Regions from separate parts of the Homo sapiens genome. Here region 2 is linked to region 1. The links are contacts of gene promoters, found by promoter capture Hi-C in blood cells and fetal thymus (Javierre and others, 2016). All regions are on one chromosome and are shown on one strand. Each heading gives the region's core, a stretch centred on a gene start or on the middle of the fragment in contact. The rest is flanking DNA. Distances are from core to core; before and after follow the strand shown. Region 1 holds the start of STRBP (spermatid perinuclear RNA binding protein). Region 2 overlaps PDCL (phosducin like).

Region 1 (7,841 bases), core at 3,088-5,587:
CTCCTGCCTCAGCCTCCTGAGTAGCTGGGACTACAGGCACGTGCCACTGCACCCGGCTAATTTTTGTATTTTTAGTAGAGATGGGGTTTCACCATGTTAGCCAGACTGGTCCCTAACTCCTGACCTCAGGCGATCCGCTCACCTCGGCCTCCCAAAGTGCTGGTATTACAGGCATGAGCCCCCGGCACCCAACCAGTCTGTTTGATTTTTTTACAAAAATGTATCAGGCCCTGTGCAGAGGCTCACACCTGTAGTTGCAGCACTTTAGGAGGCTGAGGAGGGAGTATCCCTTGAGCCCAGAGTTTGAGACCAGCCTGGGCAACATGATGAAACCCAGTCTCTACTAAAAAAAATACAAAAAGTTAACCTGGCACAATGGCATGCCTGTAGTCCCAGCTGCTCAGGAGGCTGAGGTGGGAGGATCGCTTGAACCTGGGAGACAGAGGTTTCAGTGAGCCGAGATTGCGCCACTGCACTCCAGCCTGGGTGACAGAACAAAACTCTGTCTAAAAAAAAAGAAGTATCAGATATACCAGAAAAAACAAAAAATAGAGACAGAAAGTAGACTGGTGTTTGCTTGTGGCCAGGGTTGGAAATGGGATTAACACTTAATGAGCATGAGAGTCTTACGGGGGATCCATAAGGTATGCTAAATGTTCTTTTTTTTTTAGACAGAGTTTTCCTCTGTCACCAGGCTGGAGTGCAGTGCCATGATCTTGGCTCACTGTAACCTCTGCCTCCTGGGTTCAAGCCATTCTCCTGGCTCAGCCTCCTGAGTAGCTGGGATTACAGGTGTCCACCACCATGCCCAGCTAATTTTTGTATTTTTAGTAGAGACGGGGTTTCACCATGGTGGTCAGGATGGTCTCGATCTCCTGACCTCGTGATCTGCCCACCTTGGCCTCCCAAAGTGCTGAGCCACCGTGCCCGGCAAGGTATGCTAAATGTTCTGAAACTGACTTATGTTAATGTTGCACCACTTAGTGAAGTTACTGAAAATCATTGGATTGTACATTTTTGAAATGCATAATTTTATGTGTAAACTATACCTCAAGTAAATTGTTAAAAATCTATGTGTGATTACACGCCTGTAATCACAGCACTTTGGGAGGCCAAGGCGGGAGAATCACTTGAGACCAGGAGTTCGAGACCAGCCTGGCCCATCTCTACTAAAAATACAAAAAAAATTAGACGGGTGTGGAGGCACACGCCTGTAATCCCAGCTACTTGGGAGGCTGAGGCAGGAGAATGGCTTGAACCTGGGAGACTGAGGTTGCAGTGAGGCGAGATTGTGCCACTGCACTCCAGACTGGGTGACAGAGTGAGACTCTGTCTCAAAACAAAACAGGCTGGGCACGGTGGTTCACGCCTGTAATCTCAACACTTTGGGAGGCCGAGGCGGGCAGATCATTTGAAGTCAGGAGTTCAAGACTAGCCTGACCAACATGGTGAAACCTCATCTCTACTAAAATACAAAAATTAGCCAGGCATGGTGGCAGGCGCCTGTAATCTCAGCTACTCAGGAAGCTGAGGCAAGAGTATCACTTGAACCCAGGAGGCAGAGGTTACAGTGAGCCAAGATTGCGCCACTGCACTACAGCCTGGGCGACAGAGCAAGACCCCTCTCAAAAACAAAGCAAAACAAAAATCTGCATATGTATCCTTAAAAAATTAAAACAATGCAGAAATTTTTAAGTCCTCCATCCCCACACCCAGTTCTATCTTCCAGGCATAACCAATAGTGGTTGGTGTTTAATCCTTTCTGACGTTTTTCTATGGAGAATCCAACATACACATTACAGATAAATAATTTTCTGCAACTTTCTTTTTTCTTTGGACATGTAATGAGGGACATGAAAAATTAACAGTAACTACTCTGGAGTTGGGATTGGGGTAGTGGGAGTGGAGTCAAGGGCAGGAAGGGAGAGAGACATTAACTTTTTTTTTGAGACGGAGTTTCGCTCTTGTTGTCCAGGCTAGAGTGCAATCACGGGATCTCGGCTCATTGCAACCTCTGCCCCCCGGGTTCAAGCGATTCTCCTGCCTCAGCCTCCCGAGTAGCTAGGATTACAGGTACACACCAACACGTCCGGCTAATTTTCGTATTTTTAGTAGAGATGGGGTTTTGCCCCATTGGCCAGGCTGGTCTTGAACTCCTGACCTCAGGTGATCCACACGCCTCGGCCTCCCAAAAGTGCTAGGATTACCAGCGTGAGCCACTGCGTCTGGCCTAACTTTTTACTTTCTTTCCTTTTATATAATTTGCATGCTTTTGTCTCAGTGTTTGGAGTTACAAACCCAATAAAGATATTGAAACAAGAAATACTATTGAATCCTTAATGCCATGCTGTTCTTCTATTTTAAAAAAATTAAAAATGTAACCAAGTGCTGGACACCGTGCTGAGTGCCTTAGATATACGGTTGCAATGAATCCTTCTAACAACCCTACAATATGCAATACTATTAGTCTCACTTGGCAGATGAGTAAACTTAGACTAGAGAGATTGATTTTCCAAGATCACACAGCTAGTGTGCAGTGAATCTGGATCTTTACAGTGTGGCGCCTCTTCTCCCTCTGATACTTATGGGCATCCTACAAAACCCAGCTTTAATGATCTCATGTCATGTGCACGTGTAGTCTTCCCTAACACACTTAGGCAGGAAGATGACCCTGTCCTCAAGGGACTGAGAGACCAGGGAGGAGACAGACAGCTAAACAATTACAATCTAGTGCCATGAGAATACATATAGCTTAACAGGACTATGTTCAAGCCGAGGGAGCTTAGACCATGTGTCTGAGGCAGCCAAGGATCTCCAGAGAATATACTCTGAGCTGATTGATAAGGATACCCAGGATTTTTTTCAGGAGGGTCAAGGAAGGTGTGAGTGGTCAGAGGTGGGGAGAGGGTTTAGAAAGGGATTTGCGGCCTGGCATCTGTCTCAGGAGACTCAGGCTCCTACACACCTGGGCATACTCTGGAAACAACAGTACTGTAGTTCTGTGTGGCTGGAGGGTCACATTGGCCTGAAGGAGGGGCAAAGGGAAGGGCGTGCACCTTGAAGCTTAAGGCCAGATCACCAAGGCCTTTTCAGTTGAAATTGGGTTTTTTACACTTTATTCTGTGAATGAAACAGAGCTGTTAAAATATTTGAGCCTGGTGTGTTAGAAAGATGAAAAGGGGCCCCAAGGGGGCTGTTGTGGGGAGTCCCTCCTCAACCCCTGGGCTGTTCAAGGTCCTCTGTCTTGGCACTGAGTGGTCAGGTCGTTTCTGCTCCAGGCTGGGAATTGTCTTAGGGCAAAGACATTGTCTCATTTGCCAGTGCATCCCTGCAGCCTGCAAACCCCCCGGTATACAGCAGGGACTGTATACTGGCAAGCAGAATGCTGGGCACCAAGAACTTGAGGCCAGGGACTGTAGAATAGAAAGCGAACCTTTAATTCTTCCCCAGCGCCGCCCCTGGCACAGAGCTGGTAGGTGTTCAGCCAAAGTCTGACCCAACCATAAGGAGGTCAGAGAGGTCCTGGGCCCAAACTCAATCCCAGCGAGGTTCATTATAGGCAGGTGAAGGAGAGGTGATTGTAGCAGCTTCTGTTCAGCGACTGCTGTGTGCCAGGATTCACACCTATTGTCTTATGCCATCTCCCCAACAGCTCCTAAATTGGAATTATTGTCCCAGTTTTCCTGATGAGGAAACTGAGGCTCAGAACGGTTCTTGGTAACTTGGCCAAGGTCACACAGCCAGCAAGTAGGTGGGCGGTGGCACAAGTCAAAGCCTACTGGCCTGCCCCTCTACCTCGGGAGGCAGTGCGACGCCTACTCCATTTGTGTGGCTGCTGGGGTTGGGGGGCATCCCGCACTGGGGTGCGGGGCCCGGGGAAGGCGGCTAGCCGCCGCGGCTCGGCGCAGCTCCCAGGTTCGGAAGTTACGAAGTTTCCGTGCATTTCGCTAGCCTCCCAGCGCAGCTCGTCTCCGCTCCGCCGCAGTTACGCCGCTAGCGCAGCGGGGCTCAGGTGCTGCAGCGAGCGGGGGCCTGGGGCCGGGAGGAAGGCGGGGACGCAGTTTACGTAAGCGTCCGCTGGCAGGTGCATAAGGCCGCCGGCGGCGAGTGCTCCCTGCGCGCTCCCAGGTGCGCACTTGGCGCAGGCGGCGGCACAGCAAGGCGGCGGCGGGCGCTGGCCGGCGCTCTCAGGTGCGGCAGGACGCGCGTGGAGGGGGCGCGCGGCGAACGAGGGGGCGGGCTTTCCGTTCCCCAGCAGCCGCGGGGCCCGCCCCCTGGCCTGGCCAATGGGCGCGCTCGACGGTGTCACGTGCTCGCTGCCGCCGCTGCCGCCGCCGAAGCGGAGACCGGAGCCGCGAGCGCCACCAGGGCAGCAGCCGCCGCAGCCGCCGCCGCTGGGCAGAGGAGCCGGAGACGCGAGCGGGCGAGGTGGCGGCGGCGGCGGAGCGGGAGCGGGTACCGGGCGCGGGCAGAGCGCGGCGGCGCGGGTAGGCTCCGGCGGCGGGGCGGGCGCCTGCGCGGCGGGCCGTCCCGGGCGGGCGGCGGTTAAGGCGGCGGTTGAGGCGGTTGGCGGAGCCGGCCCGGGCCCCGCATTGTTTGTTGTGCGTCCTTAGCAGCGGCGGCGGCGGTGGCGGCCGAGGCGGAGAGCAGGGAGCAATCCCGGCCCCGCGGCTCCGGCATTGTGGCCGCCGCCGCCGCCGCTGCGGTGCCCCGGCCGCTTCGGGCAAGGGCAGCGGGCAGCCTTCCTCACCTTCGCGGGGACGGGGTCCCGGCCGATCAGGGGAGGGCGTGGGCAGGGTTGGGGGACGCGGTGCCGGGAGGTCTTCCGGGACGGAGGGCTCGGGGCTCGGGGCAGGTGTTGGAGGACATTGGGGGCAGGAGCTGGGGAGAGGCTTCGGGGGGCAGGCGGAAGGTGTGGGCAGATTTGGGGGTAAATAGGGGTGCAGAGGGATCCGGCCCAATGGAGGAGGAGAGCCTTCAGGCAGGTTTGGGGGGCCCCCTGGGCCAGGCGAGTGCGAGATGGAGGACATTCCGTCCGGTGGGGGGGGGCACTATATTGTGGGGTTCAAGAGGGAATGAGGGGGCTTTTGGGGAGGGCAGGGACGAGTGGGGTGGGAATGGAGGGAGAAGACTGGGGACTCGAGCAGGACTGGAAGGAGCGCTGCGTGCCAGGGGCAGGGAGTGGGGCGGGTATTAGGAAGGCCACCGGGACGCCCGTGAAGGGGAACGATGGAGGAGGGGGTCGGGGCAGGGGGAAGTGAGGGCAGGCAGGGAGCGCCTGAAAGGGAGGGAGGGGAGCAGGGTGCCTAGGCTTCTGGGGTGATAGGGAAATGAAGGGTAGGCCCAGGGGCTCCAGGAGACCTGCGAGGGGTGTGAGGGAGTGTGTGGCCAGGTGTATAGGGGAGCCTGCAGGGAGGCGGGAGGGGGTTGACATGTAAGGATAAAAAGGCAGGTATCTGGTGCTCAGGGAAGAGGAGTATGGGGTGGAAGGGGGAAGTTCATTGGGGCAGAGACTTAGTTTGAGGGCTTGCAGAGAGAGGTGGGGACAGTAGGAGAAGGGTGATGGGGATGGAGAGCAGGAGGTGTGTGGGGCATTTAAAGGATAGCGGGAGAAGTGCGTGAAATGGAGGGTGTTTATGCAGGAAGTATGGAAGAAGGTGGGATCAGCAAGAGAGGGAATTTTGAGGTAGGACGGAGGGTGAGGGGTTCTTGGCAAGTGTTGGAGGACGTTAGGGGCAGGAGCTGGGGGAGAGGGACAGGTGTGGGGTGGCGTGGAGTGTGTGAGGTGGAGGGCAAAAGGGGGTGGGGAAAGGGAAGTGTTCTTGGAGTGGCAGGTAAAGTGTGGGGACAAATGGAAGGAAAGATTTCTGAGGCGGGAAGTGTGGAGCGGTTGGGGAGGAGGAAGGTGGAGGGGAGGGTGAGAACGAAATCAGTAGAGGGGGACAACGGGATAGACTGGAGGGGAAGGTGGACAGGTCTGGAGTACAGTAGGTGGAGGGAGGGAAGCACAGGTTTGGGGCACTGAATTTTGTGCTGTAGGGAGAAGGGAGGTAGGGAGAAAGAAGGAAGGTAGACAGGCTATTTTGGGGTAGAGGATGTAGAAGAATGCTTAATACCTATAGTGGAGTAAGGGAAGGGCAAGGCAGAGGTGTATGTGGACATGTCTGTAACTAGAAAGGCATAGGTGATGGATTGGAGTGGTGGTGGTGGTGGTGGGGGAAATAGGATGCCCAGGTTTAGGGCAGGAAATGACTGCTTAAGTTGGAGAGAGCTAGGAACACAGGTTGCTTAAGAGAGTATGGAAGATCCAAGGAGTGGAAGTATGGGGAGAGATTGGAACACTTTGAGTTTGAGAGATGAAAGGGGCCAAGATTTTTAGGTCACTGAGAGTCTAAGGAAGATCAGGCAGAGTGCAGAAGTTGGAAAAATAACTAAATGGAGAGGATTAAATTCCATACTGAGAGAAACTGGAGATTGAGGGGTGGGGGGACCTGGATCCTGGAATGATGTTAATGGAAAGTGGAGGACATTAAACTCAGTGTCATATCTGAAAGTTCATACTCCTAGGGTCAGAGAGATCGTTGAGCCTGCTTTTAATTCCAGAACCCAGTAAATGAGGAAGGGGGAAGGGGTAAGGGAGAGCTGAGTGCACATCCCCAAATTTGGGAGAGGTGTGTAGTGGGTATCATCCTAGCATATTGGTTTGACGAGTGGACAGAAGGGCCACACAGGGTCACGAGGAGCGCACCAAGAGTGAATGGAAATGGGATTGCAGCAGGTGCAGGGCAGATGTCTTTGTGAAACTGGAAGAGACCAGGCCCAGTGGCCAGTAGCATTCAAGGGCTATGCATAAGAGAGGAAGAAAGGGATACCTTGGTGCAGTGTCTCAGATACCCTGGTGCTTTCTGGGTAATGGGTCAGTATTCAGGCAGCATGGGGTGATGTAATATCTGAGTCCCATGCTATAGGCAGACAGAAGTAATGTACACCTAGCTCCTAAAAGTGGCAGAATTGGAGCTTTCTGACTCTTAACACTCTTTCAAGGCGTGAATAACTGATCTGGATTGTTGACTTTTTCTCCCAAATGGTTCAGGTAAAATTTAGTTGGAGGCTTTTGGATTCTCTGGTATTTTGATTTGAGTTGGGAAGTGTAATGTTAGCTTTATTGAGGAAAGACACTTATGGGTTGGGCGGACATATGGCCTTCAGCTTGCCAAACACATGGGAAGTAACCTTTAGGGGTTTGAACACAGACATTTATTTCAGTGCAAGTCTCATTCACTGTTCTGTGGCTTGTGTTAGATTCTTAGGGGTTTGAAAGGATTAAGCAAACTACTTTGAGACTGCTTCAGTAAGCAAGGTTTCCTAGAATCTTGGAAAACGATTTCCCTTTTGACAGTTGAAAATTAAGTCTTGTCAGATTTTGCTAAGAAATAAATTTCATCATGTTGCAGAAATAACTTCAATTATCACTCTGTGGGCTTCACGTAATGTGTAGTGTGGTACCTAGTATGATTTCAAATAAAAGGTTCGCTTTGGTAGCTTGGGAGCTTTCTGGGTTGATTAGTTTTCTTCTTTTGTCGATTTAGGAAGTATCTTAATGCAGCCATTGTATGTTCGAATAATAAGTTTGAGTGGAAGTGGGAATCTTGCCTAAACATAATGAGGGCGGAGCAGAACACCAAATTTTAAGTAATCGGAATCCGTTAATATAAATATTAAAAAAAAAACCTGGAAGCAAATGATTCGTAAAATCCAAATTTGAAGTGTGTCATGGCAGCAAAAGAATGCTCTGAAGGCATTACTGTAAGATTTTATTTTTGGAGGGAAAGATTTTTAGA
Region 2 (7,841 bases), core at 3,773-6,272, 450 kb after region 1:
TATAATTTCATAAAAATATTTGGAAACATGAGGAAATACTTATAATCGTGCTAAGTCTCGAAAGCAGGTTATGGCTTAATTGGTACACCCACAGCTGCTGCTATAAAAGCAAAACTATTTTAGTATGACTGGTAATAAAAATAATTTTTAGAGTCCATATGACTCTGTGTGTGTGTGTGTGTTTGGGGATGGTGTGGGGCAGGGGTTATGAGAGTTTTTTCTAAAATTCTGTAATGTCTTGTTATCTTTCAAAAAAAAAGTAGATAAAATATTGTCAAGACTGACAAAAAGAAATAAGCTCATGAAGTGAGATTATATGATGCTGCCTATTTGGATTGAGAGGAAATGTGATATTGTAGTTAAAAACATGGGTTTTTAAAATCTAGTTTGAGTACTGGTCTTATGCTTACTGGGTGAACTTGTTCAAATAATGTCAAGTTTTGGAACCTCATTTATAAAGTGGGGCTATTAAAAGTCCCTTCCCGATGGAGTTATGGAATTCAGTGAGATATAATGCATGTAAAGTACTTAGCATGGTGCCTTATATATTATCAGCATGTAGTACATGTTAACTGTTTTATTTCTTTTTATTTTTTTGGAGACAGGGTATCACCCTGTCTCCCAGGCTGGAGTGCACTGGTGTGATCTTGGCTAACTGCAACCTCTGCCTCCCAGGTTCAAGTGATTCTTGTTGTGCCTCAGCCTCCAGTGTAGCTGGGACCACAGGTGCACACCACCATGCCCTGCTAACTTTTTTTTTTTTTTTTTTTTTTAAGGAGAGATGAGGCTTTGCCATGTTGGCCAGGCTGGTCTTGAACTCCTGACCTCAAGTGATCCGCTCGTCTCAGCCTCCCAAAGTGCTAGGATTACAGGCGTGAGCCACCGCGCCCGGCCCATATTAACTGTTATCACGAGTGTTCAGTTTTCATATTTATGCTCACTTGCTGGTCCGCCTGCAGATGACTCTGAAGGAGTTTGCCATAATGAATGAGGACCAAGATGATGAAGAGTTTCTGCAGCAGTACCGGAAGCAGCGAATGGAAGAGATGCGGCAGCAGCTTCACAAGGGGCCCCAATTCAAGCAGGTTTTTGAGATCTCCAGTGGAGAAGGGTTTTTAGACATGATTGATAAAGAACAGAAAAGCATTGTCATCATGGTTCATATTTATGAGGATGGCATTCCAGGGACCGAAGCCATGAATGGTTGCATGATCTGCCTTGCCGCAGAGTACCCAGCTGTCAAGTTCTGCAAGGTGAAGAGCTCAGTTATTGGCGCCAGCAGTCAGTTCACCAGGAATGCCCTTCCTGCCCTGCTGATCTATAAGGGGGGTGAATTGATCGGCAATTTTGTTCGTGTTACTGACCAGCTGGGGGATGATTTCTTTGCTGTGGACCTTGAAGCTTTTCTCCAGGAATTTGGATTACTCCCAGAAAAGGAAGTCTTGGTGCTGACATCTGTGCGTAACTCTGCCACGTGTCACAGTGAGGATAGCGACCTGGAAATAGATTGAACTGATAGTCTAGTTGCATAGATTTCTCATTGTTTGGGTTGGAATACACGTCATTGTTTATTTTTGTTCCTTTGTCTTCTGGCTTTTCAGCTGTTCTTTGTAGTCCCTTTTATTATGCATAAAATAAAGAAATTCTTAGATTAAATCAGAATGCTGAATAACCTTGTAGCTAGCAATAAGGTGACTTACAGTTGTATAAACAGGAAGCCAGGCTTTTGAACTGTTTACTTAAGATTCTGTGGTGTGACATCTCTGTTATTGTTTCCAGTCAATATTTACAAAGCATCCTAAAGACAGGGTCTTGGAAATTGTCTTCAGATGATCTTAGAGGTCTCTGCCAAGTCTGAGAGTATAATTCTGTAGGTATTGTGTTATTTGCAACGTAAATAGTGCATTTTCTTAATCAAATGATTGTAAATTATATTTACTTGTAATCAGTTCCATAGCTTTAGACGGTGGTTAGATTTTTTTTTTCCCCACCAGGGTCTTGTTTAAAGGGGTGAGCCACCGCACCCAGTCCTGAGGGGTGGCCTCTGCTGCTGGATTTCATGTCTTCCTCCAGCATGACTAAGTCTGGAACAGCAGGAAGGGTTGATGCTTACTGACCTGGTGATGTTAGAAGACAAGTAGTTTATGGATTTAAACATTAGAGCTGGAGTGGGGCTGGAAATCTTTGTAAAGGAAGTTCTTTCAGTAAGATGCCCCTGCTTGTCTTTGTCTCTTTTTTGTTTAACAAGGTAACTTTTTGTTTAACAAGGTAACTTTTTGTTTAACCTAGATTTTTTTTAAAACTTTTTTTTTTTTTCATATTGGAAAAGTAATTCATATTCAGTAGAGGAAAACTGACCAAAACAGAAGCAAAAATAAGAAAATTAAAATAATCTCTAATCCTACTACCTAGAATAAAACACTATTAATATTTTGGTCTGTTTCCTGCCAAGGTGTTTTCTGTGTATACATGGATATTTTGTTTGTTTTTAAACAAAACGATGGGATCATTCTGAACATACTGTTCTATAGTATGGTCAGCTAATAATATATCAGACCTTTTTTTATATTATTAAATATTCTACAACTTTTTAAAAATGTCTATTAATATTCCATCGTATAGATGTGATATAATTTGCTTGATGGTTGTCTCTTAAAAAGAAAGATAGCAAATACTTTTTTTAAATTACAAAAGTGATAGATGTTCATTGTAGAAAATGTAATAAACACTGTTAAGACTTAAAAGCCATATAATTCCACCAACCAAAATTAATCCCTTTTGTCATATTTCTAGTCATTTTTATAGCCTTTTTTTCTATGTATTTATAATAATTATCATTTGCGTTTTTTTCCTTTTTTTAACTTTAAAAATGTATATTCTAGGGTCAGGGGAAATGTAATCTGGAATTAAATATTAGCCTTAAAATTCACAATTTTGATTTTCCTGGCTTTTCAGGAATTGACTAACTGTAAAAGAGTCTTGAAAGTATTTAGTCAACAAACAGAGTGCATTTTTTTTTTTTTTGACTAAGAAAGCTCGTTGTAGTAGAAAGGGTGGAATGTATTGAAAATTATTAGAAGCAGGGAAGTATTGTTAGTCTAGCTTATTTCCTTTCAGTCTTTTTTCAATATTTTTATAAACATTGAGTACTTACTGAATTTAGTTCTGTGCTCTTCCTTATTTAGTGTTGTATCATAAATACTTTGATGTTTCAAACATTCTAAATAAATAATTTTCAGTGGCTTCATAATATTTCATCATTTGGATATATAATAATTTATTTAACCAGTCTCTTTATTTTTATTTATTTATTTTGTTTGTTTTCTTTGAGATGGAGTCTCGCTCTGTCACCCAGGCTGGAGTACAATAGCGTGATCTCGGCTCACTGCAACCTCCACCTCCTGGGTTCAAGCAGTTCTCCTGCCTCAGCCTCCTGAGTAGCTGGGACTACAGGCACATGCCATCACGCCTGGCTAATTTTTGTATTTTTACTAGAGACGGGGTTTCACCATGTTGGCCAGACTGGTCTCAAGCTCCTGACCTCAGGTAATCTGCCCGCCTCGGCCTCCTAAAGTGCCGGGATTACAGGCGTGAGCACGCTGCACGGCCTAACCAATCTCTTTATATTGGTTATTTAGATTCTCAGTGTTTTGCTGAACACTTAATGCCTTTGTGTTTTGGGCTATATTTTGAATTATTCTCATAGATTTCTAGAAGAGGAATTACTGGGCAAATAGGGACACTTAAAAATAGCTTTTACAAACCATCTTCTGTTCTCATTGAAAATGAGAATATATTATGCACTTACAGGGAACTTGACTTTGCTTTTCAAGAACAGAAGTTCTAAAATACAGTAGGGCTGGGTGTGGTGGTTCATGCCTGTAATTCCAGCACTTTGGGAGGCTGAGGCAGACATAGTGAGGCCTCATCTCTACAAAAAATAGAAAAAATTAGCTGGGCACGGTGTTGTACCTCTAGTCCCAGCTACTTGGGAGGCTTAGTCAGGAGGATCTCTTGAGCCTGGGAGGTCAAGGCTGCAGTGAACCATGATTGCACTCCAACCTGGGCGACAGAGACCCTGTCTCAAAAAAAAAAAAAAAAAAAAAAATTAAAAAAAAGAGTAGACATGTAATGGTAATGGAGAAATCCTAGACTTTTTTTTTTGGAGATGGTGTCTCACTCTGTTGCCCAGGCTGGAGTACAGTGGCACAATCTCAGGTTACTGCAACCTCCGCCTCCTGGATTCAAACGATTCTCCTGCCTCAGCCTCCTGAGTAGCTGGGATTACAGGTGCCTGCCACCATGCCTGGCTAATTTTTGTATTTTTAGTAGAGATGGGGTTTCACCATGTTAGCCAGGCTGGTCTCGAACTCCTGACCTCAGGTGATCACCTGCCTCGGCCTCCCAAAGTGCTGGGATTACAGGCATGAGCCATCGCATCGGGCCGAGAATGTTAGATCTCTTAACTTTGGTGTCGTGGAAGCAGCATGGGCTTTAGAGTCAGGCAGATCTGGGTTCAAATCCTGTCTGGCAGTCTAGTGGTGTAGCTTCTTTCTGGTAAGAAACCTACCTTTCCTGATGCTCAGTTTCCTCATCTGTAAAATGGGAACAAAAATAACCTGTTTTGTGGAGTTGTTCTGTGACGGTGGTTCTCATGTGTGGTAGCTGGGGCAGCACCAGCAGCAGTGGCGGCCTCAGCATCACCTGGGAACTTGTCAGAAATGCAAATTCTCGGGCTTCACCCTAGACCTCCTGAATCAGGAATTCTGGGAATGACTAGGCAAACTATTTTCATGAGCCCTGTAGGTGATTCTGAAGCTTGTTCAAGTTTGAGAGTCACTGACCTATGGATTAAGGTGAGTGAGTGCACCTGTGACAGAACAAGTGCTCACTGCTCTTGGTTTCCTTATTAAAAGAGGGAGGGAGTTGAAATGGGGTAGCTCTCAGATTGCCTCTCTCCTGTTTTATTTTGTGATTCTCCCTTTTAGCCATGGAATTGGGGGAAGGAAAGAGGAACCATTTGTCTATCACAAACTGTCCCAGAGTCTTCCAGATTTCACGTTTGGAATGAAAGTCTCAGGAAGGCACGGACTTTGTTTTCTTCCTCATGTATGGCATAGAGCAGCGGTCCCCAACCCCTGGGCCACAGATCAGTATCGTTCTGTGGCCTGTTAGGAACCAGGCTGCACAGCAGGAAGTGAGCGGCGGGCCAGCAAGCTAAGCTTCATCTGTTTTTACAGCCGCTTCCCATTGCTTCCGTTACTGCCTGAGCCCCACCTCCTGTTAGATCAGCGGTGGCATTAGATTCTCATAGGAGTGCGAACCCTATTGTGAACTGCCCACGCGAGGGATGTAGGTTGTCCGCTGCTTATGAGAATCCAGCACCTGCCGATCTGTCACTGTTCCCCGTCACCCTCAGATGGGACCGTCTAGTTGTAGGAAAACAAGCTCAGGGCTCCCACTGATTCTACATTTTGGTGAGTTGTATAATTGTTATGTATTGCAATGTAATAATAATAGAAATAAAGTGTACGATAAATGCAATGCGCTTGAATCATCCTGAAACTCCCCCCACCCAACCCCAGTCTGTGGAAAAATTGTTTTCCAGGAAACCGTTCCCTGGTGCCAAAAAGGTTGGGGACCACTGGCATAGAGTAAGGGCTTGGTCTCTAGGCACAGCCTGATACTACCTTTGGAAGCAAGATGCTGAATCCCTCCATGCCTCAGTTTCCTCATCTGTGAAATGCTGATAGTAACATGAGTCAATTAATATAAAGTACCTGGAACACACAGAAGTGTTTTTATTGGTCTAGTGCCCACACTGTGCTTGGCACTTGGCAAAAGATGAATAAACATTTAAGAATGAACACATTGACTCATTGAATGGCACATCTTTTCAAAGTAGGAAGTAGTAACTGTTCAAAGGTGTAGAAACCAAGACTTAGCAGAGTTAAGTGACATTTCAACTTATACAGCTAGTGGGCAGGGCAGGATTAAAATCAGGTTTGTGAAGTTCCAACATTTGTACTATTTTCCTGATGTCATATTCTTGATGGAGAAAGCAAACTGATCAAGTGACAATAAAATAGAAACATTGAAAGACAGTGGAGAGAATAGAGGAAGGAAATAAAGAAGATAATTTATTTTTACTCATTTATTTATTTCATTATTTTTATTTATTTTTTTGAGTCAGAGCCTAGCTCTGTCGCCCAGGCAGGAGTGCAGTGGCGTGATCTCAACTCACTGCAACCTCTGCCTCCCGGGTTCAAGCGATTCTCCTGCCTCAGCCTCCTGAGTAGCTGGGACTACGGGTACGTGCCACCATACCAGGCTAATTTTTTTATTTTTAGTAGAGACAGGTTTTTACCATGTTGGCCAGGATGGTCTCGAACTCCCGACCTCAGGTGATCTGGCTGCCTCGGCCTCCCAAAGTGTTGGGATTGCAGGTGTGAGCCACCGCGACCGGCCAAGAAGAGAATTCAAAGAGCGAAAAGGAGTTGAGCTGATGGAGCCTTGGGTCTCTCAATTCTGCCTGTGTTTCAGGCCAGAATCTCCTCCTGTCTCAGCTGTGGCAGTGACCCACAATGTGCCCCTGTTGAGGGGCATCTCCTTCCTACCATGACTCAAGAGAGTCCTCCCTCCCAAAATCCATCTCTTAGGCTCCTTCCTCCACACACTGCCACCCGTGTCCCACTACAAGTGACAGCAATAGGGAGAATAGTTAATGTGGACTCTGGCTCTTTCAGTAACTAGTTAAGTGCCCTCAGATACATCTCTTCCTCTCCTGGGCCTCATTTCCCCATTTGTAAAGTGAGGAGTTGAACTAGATGATCTTTTTTTTTTTTTCCTCCCCCTCGGGACAGGGTCTTGCTCTGTTACCCAGGCTGGAGTGTAGTGGCGCAATCACAGCTCATTGTAATCTTGAACCGTTGGGCTCAAGGGATCCTCTTGCCTCCGTCTGCCGAGTAGCTGGGACTACAGGTGCATGCCACTGTGCCTGGCTAATTTTTTATTTTTTGTAGAGTGGAGTGTCTCACTTTGTTGCCCAAGCTGGTCTCAAACTCCTGGGCTCAAGCGATCCTCCTGCCTCAGCCTCCCAAAGTTCTGGGATTACAGGTGTGAGCCACGCATCTGGCTAGATGATTTCGTCAGATGCTTCAGACTCTCACATTGTATTAGTTAATTATTAATCTTTTATTTGGAAAACGTTGAAACCTATAGGAAACTGAAAAGAATATTACCATTAACATCTGTATATCTTTCACGTGGCTTCATCAAAAGTTGATATTTTGCTGCATTTGTTTATCTCTGTTTTCTGTGGAACTTTTTTTTTTTTTTTGAGACGGAGTCTCACCGTCACCCAGGCTGGAGTGCAGTGGCGCGATCTCGACTCACTGCAAGCTCCACCTTCTGGGTTCACGCCATTCTCCTGCCTCAGCCTCCCAAGTAGCTGGGACTACAGGCACCCACCACCACACCCGGCTAATTTTTTGTATTTTTAGTAGAGACAGGGTTTCACCGTGTTAGCCAGGATGGTCTTGATCTCCTGACCTCGTTATCCGCCCGCCTCAGCCTCCCAAAGTGCTGGGATTACAGGCGTGAGCCACTGCGCCTGGCGGAACTATTGAGATGTAAGTTTGCAGACATCTTGACTTTGCTCCTAAATACTTCACTGACTCTCCTAAGAAAAGGGTCTTGATCCTGTATAACCAAAATACCATTGTTACACTCAAGAGAATAAACAGTAATTCAACAATATCTAAAACACAGTTCATATCAATTTTCTCTATTTGTTCCCAAAATTTCTTTAATATTCTTTGAAAAAAATTCAGGACGCAATC

Evidence for each region. Contacts are between HindIII fragments. The CHiCAGO score rates a contact against its expected background, and 5 or more counts as called.
Region 2: a contact is called between a fragment that was not itself captured here and the fragment with the promoter of STRBP in region 1, in 1 of 17 cell types (naive CD4 T cells). The highest score is 5.0, in naive CD4 T cells.

Annotation. Positions count from the first base shown.
Region 1 is chr9:123,265,082-123,272,922 of GRCh38, reverse strand. STRBP (spermatid perinuclear RNA binding protein) reads left to right here and starts at 4,337. Exons shown (of 19, transcript NM_018387.5): 1 at 4,337-4,487. RefSeq lists silencers at 3,912-4,391, 4,562-4,611 and an enhancer at 4,011-4,511. The HindIII fragment of the contact is 5,570 bases long and covers 3,066-7,841 here.
Region 2 is chr9:122,813,755-122,821,595 of GRCh38, reverse strand. It overlaps PDCL (phosducin like), which reads left to right. Exons shown (of 4, transcript NM_005388.5): 4 at 960-3,499. The coding sequence ends at 1,511. Among named protein-coding and RNA genes, the nearest start is that of PDCL, 11 kb to the left of the region's middle. The HindIII fragment of the contact is 404 bases long and covers 4,821-5,224 here.